Linked DNA regions of Homo sapiens: region 2 is linked to region 1. Evidence: promoter capture Hi-C in 16 types of primary human blood cells and fetal thymus (Javierre and others, 2016). All regions are on one chromosome and are shown on one strand. The core of a region is centred on a gene start or on the middle of the fragment in contact, and the rest is flanking DNA. Distances in the headings are between cores, read along the strand shown.

Region 1 (5,425 bases), core at 2,214-4,713:
CTTTTAAGCTATTTACAACTTTTAACAATTGAGTAAAATATACTCCTATGAATAAAATGTGGAGTATATTTGTTTTCTCTCTACTTGATTTCTAAAGAATTTGGAAACTATTTGTGAGCATTATTAACTCATGACAATACACTTATTTGCATAAGTGCAGTAAGAATCTGTTTTCATTTGTAACAGGACAAAATTGGAGAAACTGGTTATTTTGCCAAGGCTTTGACTGGAATGGTGTGCTTTCCTTTAAGGAATCAAACTTGACTGATGGAGCCAATGAAAGCCCTTGGGAAAACTGGCCTCATCCTTGTCTACACAGTATAATGTGGCCTATATCAATTTTTCAGAATTATTTTTTAGTTTGCTGCTTTTCTCCCTTCCTCCCCCTATTTTCTCTTCATAGGACATGAGACTTCACAACATGCTAATAATGAGCTTTCCTAATAACTTGGCACCTACCTGTCTACGAATAAACCATTCTAAGCCATGAGAGATCCAATGAAATCTGAGCCCAGAGACTCGGTTTCTTCTAAAGTGCTTTCTCAAAAAAATTTTTAAAAAGAAAAGGGGGGAAAAGTGAAAGGAAAAAAATTCTTGGGGCCCCCAAATCACTAAATTAAAGGAAAAAGTCAAACTGGGAACTGCTTAGGGCAAACCTGCCTCCCATTCTATTCAAATTCATCTCTCTGCTCACTGAGATAAATGCATATCTGATTACCTCCTTTGAAGAGGCTAATCAGAAACTCAAGAGAATGCAACCATTTGTCTCTTAGCCATCTATGACCTGGAACACCCCTTCCTGCATCGAGTCTTCCCACGTTTGCTTCAAGTTGACCTGCCTCTCCAGGCAGAACCGATGTTCATCTTGCATATGTTGATTGATATCTCATGTCTCCCTAAAATGTTTAAAACCAAGCTGTGCTCTGACCACCTTGGGCACATGTGTTCAGGACCTCCTGAGGCTGTGTCACAGACACACATCCTCAATCTTGGCAAAATAAACTTTCTAAATTGAGACCTGTCTCAGATTTCCAGGGTTCACAGCAGTAAGCAGAACAGCCAGTTTCCTCTCAACTTAGCCTTAGCAGGAGAGACCTCTGTGTCTGGAAGCCTTTCCCAACTTGAATCATTTTGTCTCCACTAGTTTGTGAGTATTTTGAGACTAGGAATCATGAGTTATTATTCATCTTTGGAGCTGCAGTGCCTAGCACATTGCCTGATATGGGGGCAGATTTGATGTTTGATGGATAAACAAATGAATGCAAGTAATTCCTGAAGGCTTTTACATCTAATAAAGAAAACAGAAAAATGTCAAGAAGACTGCTTGCTTTAGCAGGGCATTCTCAATTTTATATCATAAAAATCCAACTTAAATTTGCTGAGTCAAAGAGGGCATTTATTTGCTGATAAATGGCAAACCCAACCATGCAGAATCCCAGAGCCCAACCCGTGTAGTTAGGCCTTTATCCCTTTCCTCAGTTCCCCACTCAGTTTGTCTCATCTTGGTTTCATTCTTAATCCAGGGCCTCTCCACATGACAGACAAGATGGTCCACCAGTACCCCCAGGTTCATATCCCATTTTTAGTATGCCAGCAGTGGCCACACATTTCCAGGGAAGACGCTGATGGCCCTGTCTGCCCATTCTTGAACCAAATACTTTGGTTGGCAGAGAGGGTACTTCAAATGGACAGCATGGTTGACAAGCCCACCCCAAGCCAGTCAGCAGGGTAACACTAGTGTCGGCCTCACCAGGAACACATCGGAATTGGCAAGAAATCTCCTTTAGAAACCAGAAGGAGATAGGAAAGTACAGTGGATTACGATGTCTTCTATGTCTTCCTTCCTATCTTTTTTTTTAAACAGGGTCTCATTCTGTCACCCAGGCTGGAGTGCAGTGGTACATTCATGGCTTACTACAACCTCTGCCTCCTGGGCTCTAGTGATCTTCCTGCCTCAGCCTCCCAAGTAGCTAGTACTACAGACGTGGGCCACCATGCCCAGGCTAATTTTTATATTTTTTTTGTAGAGATGGGGTCTCAGTATGTTGTCCAGGCTGGCCTCAAACTCCTGGGCTCATGCAATCCACCTGCCTCGGCCTCCCAAAGTGCTGGGATCACAGGTGTGAGCCATCACACCCGGCCCTTCTAGGTCTTTCTATCTTCCTGCTCCACCATCCTTACTTAGCATGATGGTTTTTGCATTCATTTATGTAACTTAATGGATGCAAGACACATGCCACAGATCTGAACAGAATAAATGTTTTCAAGGCAGAAAGAAAGGGGGAGGGGAAGTCCCAGCCTTAGCTGTCCTTTTTATGAGGAAAGCAAAAACTTTTCCAGAAACACCTCAAAAAGACTTCCCCTTAAATATCACTGGCCAGCACTGGGTCACACTGCTACCCCTTGTGGCAAGTGAGGCTAGAAATTCTAGTTTTGACAAAGTGAAATATAATTTCATGACTAGTTTGGACCAAAACTGATTGCCCCACCCCTCCATCGACCTCTCCTGGAGACTAATTACACTTGCTCTGAGCCCCCAGAGCATGCTGGGCCTCTCTGATCCTAGCGACATATGCACTGTACAGCGGTTGCTTTTTTTTTTTTTTTTTTTTTTGAGACGGAGTCCCCCTCTGTCGCCCAGGCTGCAGTGCAGTGGCGCTATCTCGGCTCACTGCAAGCTCTGCCTCCCGGGTTCACGCCATTCTCCTGCCTCAGCCTCCCGAGCAGCTAGGACTACACGCACCCACCACCACGCCCGGCTAATTTTTTTTTTTGTATTTTTAGTAGAGACGGGGTTTCACTGTGTTAGCCAAGATGGTCTCGATCTCCTGAACTCGTGATCCGCCCGCCTCGGCCTAGCGGTTGCTCATTTTTTGCAGCCCCCACCCCTTGCTAGGATTTCTAAACAGGTGCCCACATCCTTGTATCCCCAGCACTTAACACAGTGCCTAGCTTCATTCCACCGGTTTATTTGAGTGACTGCCATGTGCGAGGCTCTGTGCAAATAAAGCAGGCGATTGGTGAACATTTCCTGGATGGATGGAGGGATGGATGGATGGACTGATGGGTGGATAGATGGATGGATATCATCACTGTGCAGTGGTTCCCATCAGGGCAGCCTGAGTCTCCCCACCCCCTCCCCTCATCCCTCTCACTCCAGGCTGTCATTTCACTTTCCTAAAAGCCTTCCCTTTGCCCATGATGCCAATGACTAGCTCTGTCCTGAAGCAATAGCTAGTACTTTCCCTCCTTCCTGCCACCTAGCATCCAGCCGAACCTTGAATCAATACCAGTAAAATGGGTGTGAACGGAAGGAGGCTGCTCATTATTTGCCATTATTTACCTCTGAGTCTGTGCATTCCCATTCCTTCCCATATTAATTCTCTCCCGCGCAACACCCCCCCCCCCCCGCCCCCCCATCCTTGGGAACTGGTTCAACCAGAGTACAACCAGCTCATCTGCATCTGGCCCTAAAGAACCTGCGGCAGCCAGAGGCGGAGGAAGAGAGAAGGCTGCATAGGAGCTGCAGCGCGGTGCGGCCAGCACACACCCCGGCCCGCGAGGCCCCGGGCTCGCCCATGAGGCCTCTGCCCAGCGGGAGGAGGAAGACCCGAGGCATCTCCCTAGGACTCTTCGCCCTCTGCCTGGCCGCAGCCCGCTGTCTGCAGAGTAAGCTCCGGGGGACGCCCCGGGTGCTGGGGGAGCGGGAATGGGTAGGGGGGCACGGGCGGGGCCCCGGGGTCTAGCAGCGGCCCCCCTGGCCCTCGCCCACCTTGTCCGGCTGAGGGCGCGCGGTGAGCTCGGCTGGCAGGCACCGCGCCGCTTCCTCGTGGGGCTGGGCGAGGCCTGGAGACCCGGCGCCGACCGTAGCGGGAGGGGCTGGGCAAAGCAGAGGCTACCGGCCGCGGCGCCCCGGCCCACTTCGGGGCGCCCGCCCCACCCGGCGAGCCCGGCCTACGGTTATCAGAGCTGGAAGGTGGCCCAGAGATAACCGGCTCCCAGCCCTGTGGCCGCCGCCTCTGCAACATTTTTTATTTCTTTTTCCTGGAATAACCAGATTGCAGTCCGTGCGCCGCCCCCTACTGTGGGGACCCCTCCATGGCCTTCCTGGTCATCTCCCAGGAGAATAATCAGGCCTCCTTATCAGTCAGACGAACCCACAGCAGCCTGCTCCCGTGAGAAAAACGGTTCTGGGGTTTGGGTTGGGCGTTGTGGCCTGAAGTCCCCAGGCTGGAGGTGGTCCTCGCGACCAGCGCACTGAGTAGATTTGCTTTGGATGGCCGGACCCGGAATCCCCAGCCTGGTGAGCCTGGATGCGAAGCGTAGTCCCAGAGGCTCTCTTGGACACAAACAACAGATCTTAGCACAGTTTTACTTTCTCATTTAATCATTACCATTCGCACTCCCATCTTACACATGGGCCAACTGAGGTTTAGAGAATGACAGAGCAGGGCCGCTGGAGGTGAGAGGCCTTGTAGTAAGAGCCAGCACTTATTAAGCATTTATGCATTCACCATCCCTCAGACTTTACAAGACCTCTCTCATTTAGTCCTTAGGGCAACCCTAATAAACTACTCTTATTCCTGTTTCACAAGTGAGGAAACTGAGGCACAGAAATGTTATAAGCCAATCGCAGGGGCTCATGCCTGTATTCCCAGCATTTTGGGAGGCCGAGGCCAGCGGATCCCTTGAGTCCAGGAGTTCAAGACCAGCCTGGGCAACATGGCAAACTGTCTGTAGTAAAAATATGAAAAAATTAGCTGGGTGTGGTGGCCTGTGCCTGTAGGCCCAGCTACTGGGGTGGGCGGCGGGGGAGCTGAGGTGAAAGGATCACTTAAGCCCAGGAGATTGAGGCTTCAGTGAGCCCTGATTGTGCCACTGCACTCTAGCCTGGGGAACAGAATGAGACCTTCTCCAAAGCGAAAGAAAAAGAAAAGAAGAGAGAGAGAGAAAAAATAATATTATGTTAACTTATACAAGGTGACTGAACGATCTAACATTTTTGACCTTTACACCTCTCTGGCTAGAACCCAGCTGCAGAGGTTGCAAATCTCAGAAACCCAGTAAGACAGAGGCATGTTCCTCTGGCAGCTATGGATCAAGAAAACAGTTGGTTGTTAGTCTCGAGCAGGTGGATGGGTGTGTTTGTCATTGCAGTGGCTTTTTATATTATTTCTCAAACCTTTATCACTTGTTTCTAATCACCATACTTACACATCTGTTCAGATACCCCTCATGCTCAGGGACCAGCCATTTGCAATAGCGTATAATTCATTCATTCACTCACTCATTGACTGTACCCTCTCCCTGCAGGAAGCAGGCCACAGTGGGTACCTAGGATATGGTGGTTCACTGTTTCGTTCTCAGGAAGCTCAGGTGTCATGGAGAAGACAGACATGCAAACAAGAGGGGCAGCCTTGCAATG
Region 2 (5,807 bases), core at 2,961-5,460, 600 kb before region 1:
TTTTTGTTTGCACCCTGTTATGTATCAGCTAAAAAGTTTCATGGGGTCTTGAAGTATATTATTAATTTTCAGTGTATAGAATTCAACATTTATCAATTAGATCTATCTTATTAATTATGTGATTTAGATCATCTTTTTTCTCTTAAGTCTGCTTTCTAAAAGCATACAGCTGGTTCCTTTTATTTGTGGTAGTTATGTCGTATAAAATCACTTCCAGCACAGAATTAGCAAATGGTGAATCATTGCTCCTAGGGGAAATACAAAATTAGCTTTCTATGAGCCACTGATAACGTTTTTGTCAGCTGATCAATACGTAATCTTTTTAATGTGTTTCTGTTTAAAGATACTGTATTTAACATTTGATTCATTAGCATTGAACTCATAGCCAGTAGCACTTTAACTTATACTTGAATTAAGTTTATCTAATATACATTTTTTCTCCAAAAGTCATATTGCAGCCTTTTTGCATGTAGGAATGAACACTAAACATGTTGAGGGGGTCATTTGAAAACACCACATTACCAAAGCAAAAGTACAAAAATGCAGAAAATGCAATAAATATGTAGTCATGTGCCACATACAACATTTTGATCGATGTCAGACTGCATATCCAGTGGTGGTCCCATGAGATTATAATACCATATTTTTACTATATCTTTTCTATTAAGATATGCTTAGATACCCAAATACATAGCTATGGTGTTATAATTGCCTGCAGTATTCAGTACAGTAACATGTTGTACAGGTTTGTAGCCAAGGAGCAATAGGCTATCTCCTATAGTCTGGGTTTGTAGTAGACTGTACCATTTAGCTTTGTGTAAGTACACACTATGATGTTTGCACAATAATGAAATCACCTGATGACACATTTCTCATGAGGCATCCATCATTAAGCAATGCATGACTATCACAGAAAGGACACTTTAAAGTACACAAGTGGAAACAAGAAGGCAGAGTGGCTCATTGTTCAGCCTCAGCTGGGAATATGTGTGTCAGGCAATTCAAAATATTTACCACTCTGCGTCTCCATAAATGATGCCAAAAGTATCGTGAGTGTTGATTTTTAGGGTTACAGAGAAATTTTGGCAAGTCGGTGAATTTGCAAATATAGGATTAATGAATAATGAGGATTAACTGTATTTCATGTGGGACAGGAAAGATGAATTGAAATCACTGTTGTTTCTTATATTTTTTGTTGTATTTCCTGAAGTGTTTTCTTTTTGCATTGTAATGCTGTATTGAACCCTGCATGCAGTGAGTTAGCTGTGATTTCACCTCAGCTGAGATCATCTCATCATGAAGTTGCCACTTCAGTCCCACTTTATGCTGCCTGCCTTGTTCACATCTCCTCATTTAGCCCTGGGTCTCCTTACTTTATGGTATCACAGAGCTTAGAAATGTTCTGGTCAGCTATTCTTAGACCCAGAACTGCCATTCCAAGCAAGAGAGACTGTTATCATGTCTTCTTGGGATTTATACATCAGTTTTGGAGAGCTGTATAATACCTGAAACTCTTCTCACCTTTCTCCCTTAGCTAGGTCAAATATTTATCATATTCATTAACTCTTCTTTATAGTTTGTGTGTTTGGGGGTTTGGAACTATTTTTTAATTTTATGGAAAATGTATTTTGTTTTTGTTCTCTTACTACCTTTTGATTGGTTTAAGGGAAGATCAAGGCAAAATTGCTTTTATTTATATTTTATTTTATTTTTTGGTGACAGGGTCTCGCTCTGTTGCCAGGCTGGAGTGCAGTGGCACGATGTCTTTTCTAAATGGATTCTTACCAAATTAAAAATGCGTGGCATGTTCTTGGTCCTAAGGTGTTTATTCCTTCTTAGGCTTAGGCTTTCAGTTGATATATTCTCCTTAATTCTTCCGTTTCTTTTCATTTTTTTTTTAGGCAAGGTCTCACTGTGTCACCTAGGCTGAAGTGCAGTGGTGCAATCTCAGCTCACTGCAACAACTCCCCTCCCCACTGCTTCCCCCAGGCTTGAGCGATCCTCCTACCTCAGCCTCTCAAGTAGCTGGGACTACAGGTGCATGCCATCACACCTGGCTAATTTTGTTCTTTTGTGTTTTTTTTTTGTATTTTTGGTGGAGGCAGGGTCTCGCCATGTTGCCCAGGCTGGTCCCTAACTCCTGATCTCAAGCAGTCCATCCACCTAGGCCTCCCAAAGTGCTGGGATTACAGGTGTGAGCCACTGCGCCCAGCCCTTAATTCTCTTTACCATATATTTGTGAGAGATTGTTACTCATGTTTTTTTCTGATTATAAAACTAATTTTTTAGAAAAAGTGTAATATAGAAAATATGTAATATTCAAGAACAAAAAACAAAAGCACCCTAAAATATTAGTGCCCAGAGATAACGGCTATTTTTTGTAAGTTTTTTTCTTATTATTTCCTAGGAGCCGATTCTAAAAAGTAGCTCAAATGATGACAGTCTGTTACTGTCAAATGTGGCATTGAATTAGGGATGATTGCCAGTATTCCTTCTAGTTCTGAAAATTTTGATTCTGTAAAATTTTATTTTTCTTGGTAAACCTTTTCAAAGGGTCTCATTTTATAGGTAGTATGGTAGATTGGTCTGACAGATAATAAGTATTAAATTTGATTGGTGGGGAGGTTCTCCTTTACACATATATAAATATTTTTTGTTTTTATTTTTATTTTTGAGACAGGGTCTCTCTTTGTCACCCAGGCTGGAGTGCAGTGGTGTGATCATAGCTCACTGCAGCCTGTATCTCCTAGGCTCAAGTGATCCTCCTGCCTCAGCCTCCTGTGTAGCTCGGGACTACAGGTGCATGCCACCATGCCTAATTTTTTTTTTTTTTTTTTTTTTTTGTAGAGACGGGGTTTCGCTGTGTTGCCCAGGCTTGTCTCAAACTCTTGGGTGCAAGTGATCCTCCCGCCTCGGCCTCCCAAAGTGCTGAGATTACAGGCGTGAGCCACTGTGTCAGCCTCCTTTATGTTTTTATAGTATGATTAGTTCATGTCAATGCCTAAATTAATGATTTTTAGGATGGTACGTTATCTCATTGTGTGTACTTTCTCCTTCTTCTCCCTCTTAGGCTATGACCAGGGCCAGAGCACTCAGATCTCAGTCAGAGGAGTCTGCTTCTGCCTTTAGTGCTGATGACCTTATGAGTATAGATTTAGCAGAACAGATGGCTAATGACTCTGATGATAGCATCTCAGCAGCAACCAACAAAGGAAGAGGCCGAGGAAGAGGTCGAAGAGGTGGAAGAGGGCAGAATTCAGCATCGAGAGGAGGGTCTCAAAGAGGAAGAGGTGAGCACTGAGTTCAGTCCTGTGCACATTCACACTTGGCAGTTGAGTGGAAAATACAGAATTAGATCTTGTCAGAGTTGAATTATAAGTTTTATTTCTAAAACACGGTTCTTTAAAAATCTATTTTTATAATATATAAAGACAGTCTTTAAGGCAGTTCTGACATGTGCCTTTTACTTAAATAAATTTTGAATGGCCACATGCACTTAGGGTTTTAATTGTTCTTAGCACATACCTTATAAAAGCTTCACTGTGTTTGTCACGTAGTACCTTTTGGATACATTTAATGTCATATGTATTTTCACATGTGCAAAGTAATAGGCAAATATGAGTTGTTAAAGAAAATAGCTAAAAGCCTTTGGCAACAGGAGGAAAACTCCAGATCATACAATTATTATTTTTGTTACTGTCATAAGATACAAATACACATATGCTTATCAAGTAGTCTTTATAAAGTCAGTTTAAGAAAGAAAACTGCCCCCCAATTTGATTCCTAAAACTAGTCATTAACATAGTCAACATTGTATTTACTGTGAGACTATTGTCATTGAATAGTTCACGCCAATAGAAATTGGTCACTCAGTGACTTTCTCACACATTATGTCAGTTCATCTCTAAAGATTTTTTAAAATTGTTTTTATTAAATATGCATCCATAGGAATTTTAAGCTGGTGAAATGAATATTAATTTGGTTTAAAATCTCCAGGGAGAGAAATCCTCATCTTTTAATGATGATTATTTTCACTATTCTTACATTTACAAAATTTTTCCTTAAAAATTTTTATTTTTGTTTTTTAATTTTTCTTGAGATGGAGTCTTGTCTTTGCTCTGTTGCCCAGGCTGGAGTGCAATGGTGCGATTTCAGCTCACTGCAACTTCCGCCTCCCAGGTTCAAGCAATTCTCCTGCCTCAGCCTCCCAGGTAGCTGGGATTACAGGGGCCCATCATCATGCCAGTTAATTTTTGTATTTTTAGTAGAGGTGGGGTTTCACCATGTTGGCCAGGCTAGTCTTGAACTCTTGACCTCAAGTGATCCTCCCGCCTCTGTCTCCCAAAGTGCTGGGATTACAGGCGTGAGCTACCACGTCCAGCCTATTTCCTTACATTTTAATTGGATAAATTAAATTGGATAAACTGAAGTGTGGCCTAAAAGAATAGTCTCTGAAAATTGGTCAGACTCTAGATGTTTGTTCTTATATATATGTCTGGCTTTTTACAGACAAACTATTTGACATAAGTTTATTTAGCTTTCATTTTTTAGTGTTGTATGAAATAAACCTTAGCTGCTGATAGGCTTGTACATTGACTGTTCATTTTTCTAACAGCAGACACTGGTCTGGAGACTTCTACCCGTAGCAGGAACTCAAAGACTGCTGTGTCAGCATCTAGAAATATGTCTATTATAGATGGTGAGTATAGACTGCAAGTGATTATTTATAAATTCCAACATTAGAAAGACCAAGGTAATCACCATTGGTAGCCCTTATTTGTGTTGCAATCATTGGGAAGTTATAAGGGCAATTAGGATCACAGGATAAATTATTTTTTAAAAGATCTTTGCTATGCATTAGAGTTACTGAAGAGGGTAAGCTTTTAAAATCATGTTTTATAGGCCAGGCACAGTGGATCACACCTGTAATCCCAGCACTTTGGGAGGCCGAGACAGGCAGATCACGAGGTCAGGAGATCGAGACCAGCCTGGCCAACATGGTGAAACCCGGTCTCTACTAAAAATACAAAAATCAGCCAGGCGTGGTGGCACATGCCTGTAGTCCCAGCTACTTGGGAGGCTGAGGCAGGAGAATCACTTGAACCCAGGAACTGGAGGTTGCAGTGAGCCAAGATCATGCCATTGGACTCTACCCTAGCAACAGAGAGAGACTCCGTCTCAAAAACAAAACAAAACAAAACAAAAATTATGTTTTATAATTTCTTACTTTCAGACAAATGCTGTTTCTGTTTGGCAGAGAGACCCTGGAAACAGGAAAGTGAAGTAGTTGGTCACTATATGGACAGTGGTCGAAAGAGAGAGGAACTGTCTCTACTGTTTCCTTGCTTCCCCCATACTGCCCTGTCAGTCTCTGCTTTCCATATAGAGAAGTCATGTGACCTATATTTAAGAGAAATTATGGCTAGGCCCTTGGAATTAATTTGTGTATATCCTATGGTCTAAAAATTGGCCTCAAGGGGATCTGTTTAACTATTTTTAATATTATAGATGATGAGATCAGCCTAAAATGTTAGTCATATTTACAAAAAGTATGCATTAAGATAGGTGGTGATACTTTTTTCTACCTAGCATTTAGAATATATTCATATGTATATTATTTATATTATCAGTTATTTGAGGTTATTGTTTCACTTTTATAATTATAAATATTTTTTAAATATTATAATTGTAATATTTATAATCTTATAGCTAGGATTAATTGTTGACACACTGGGGAGCTGAACTAATTCTCAGAAGATGAAGTTTATCAAGGGTAATATAAACCACATTTATGTCCAAAAGGACAG

The links. Contacts are between HindIII fragments. The CHiCAGO score rates a contact against its expected background, and 5 or more counts as called.
Region 2: a contact is called between a fragment that was not itself captured here and the fragment with the promoter of VSTM5 in region 1, in 1 of 17 cell types (naive B cells). The highest score is 5.1, in naive B cells.

What each region holds. Positions count from the first base shown.
Region 1 is chr11:93,848,656-93,854,080 of GRCh38, reverse strand. VSTM5 (V-set and transmembrane domain containing 5) reads left to right here and starts at 3,463. Exons shown (of 4, transcript NM_001144871.2): 1 at 3,463-3,669. The coding sequence starts at 3,579. The HindIII fragment of the contact is 13,893 bases long and covers 1-5,425 here.
Region 2 is chr11:94,444,702-94,450,508 of GRCh38, reverse strand. It overlaps MRE11 (MRE11 double strand break repair nuclease), which reads left to right. Exons shown (of 20, transcript NM_005591.4): 15 at 3,071-3,290; 16 at 4,616-4,699. Among named protein-coding and RNA genes, the nearest start is that of MIR548L, 19 kb to the left of the region's middle. The HindIII fragment of the contact is 1,345 bases long and covers 3,538-4,882 here.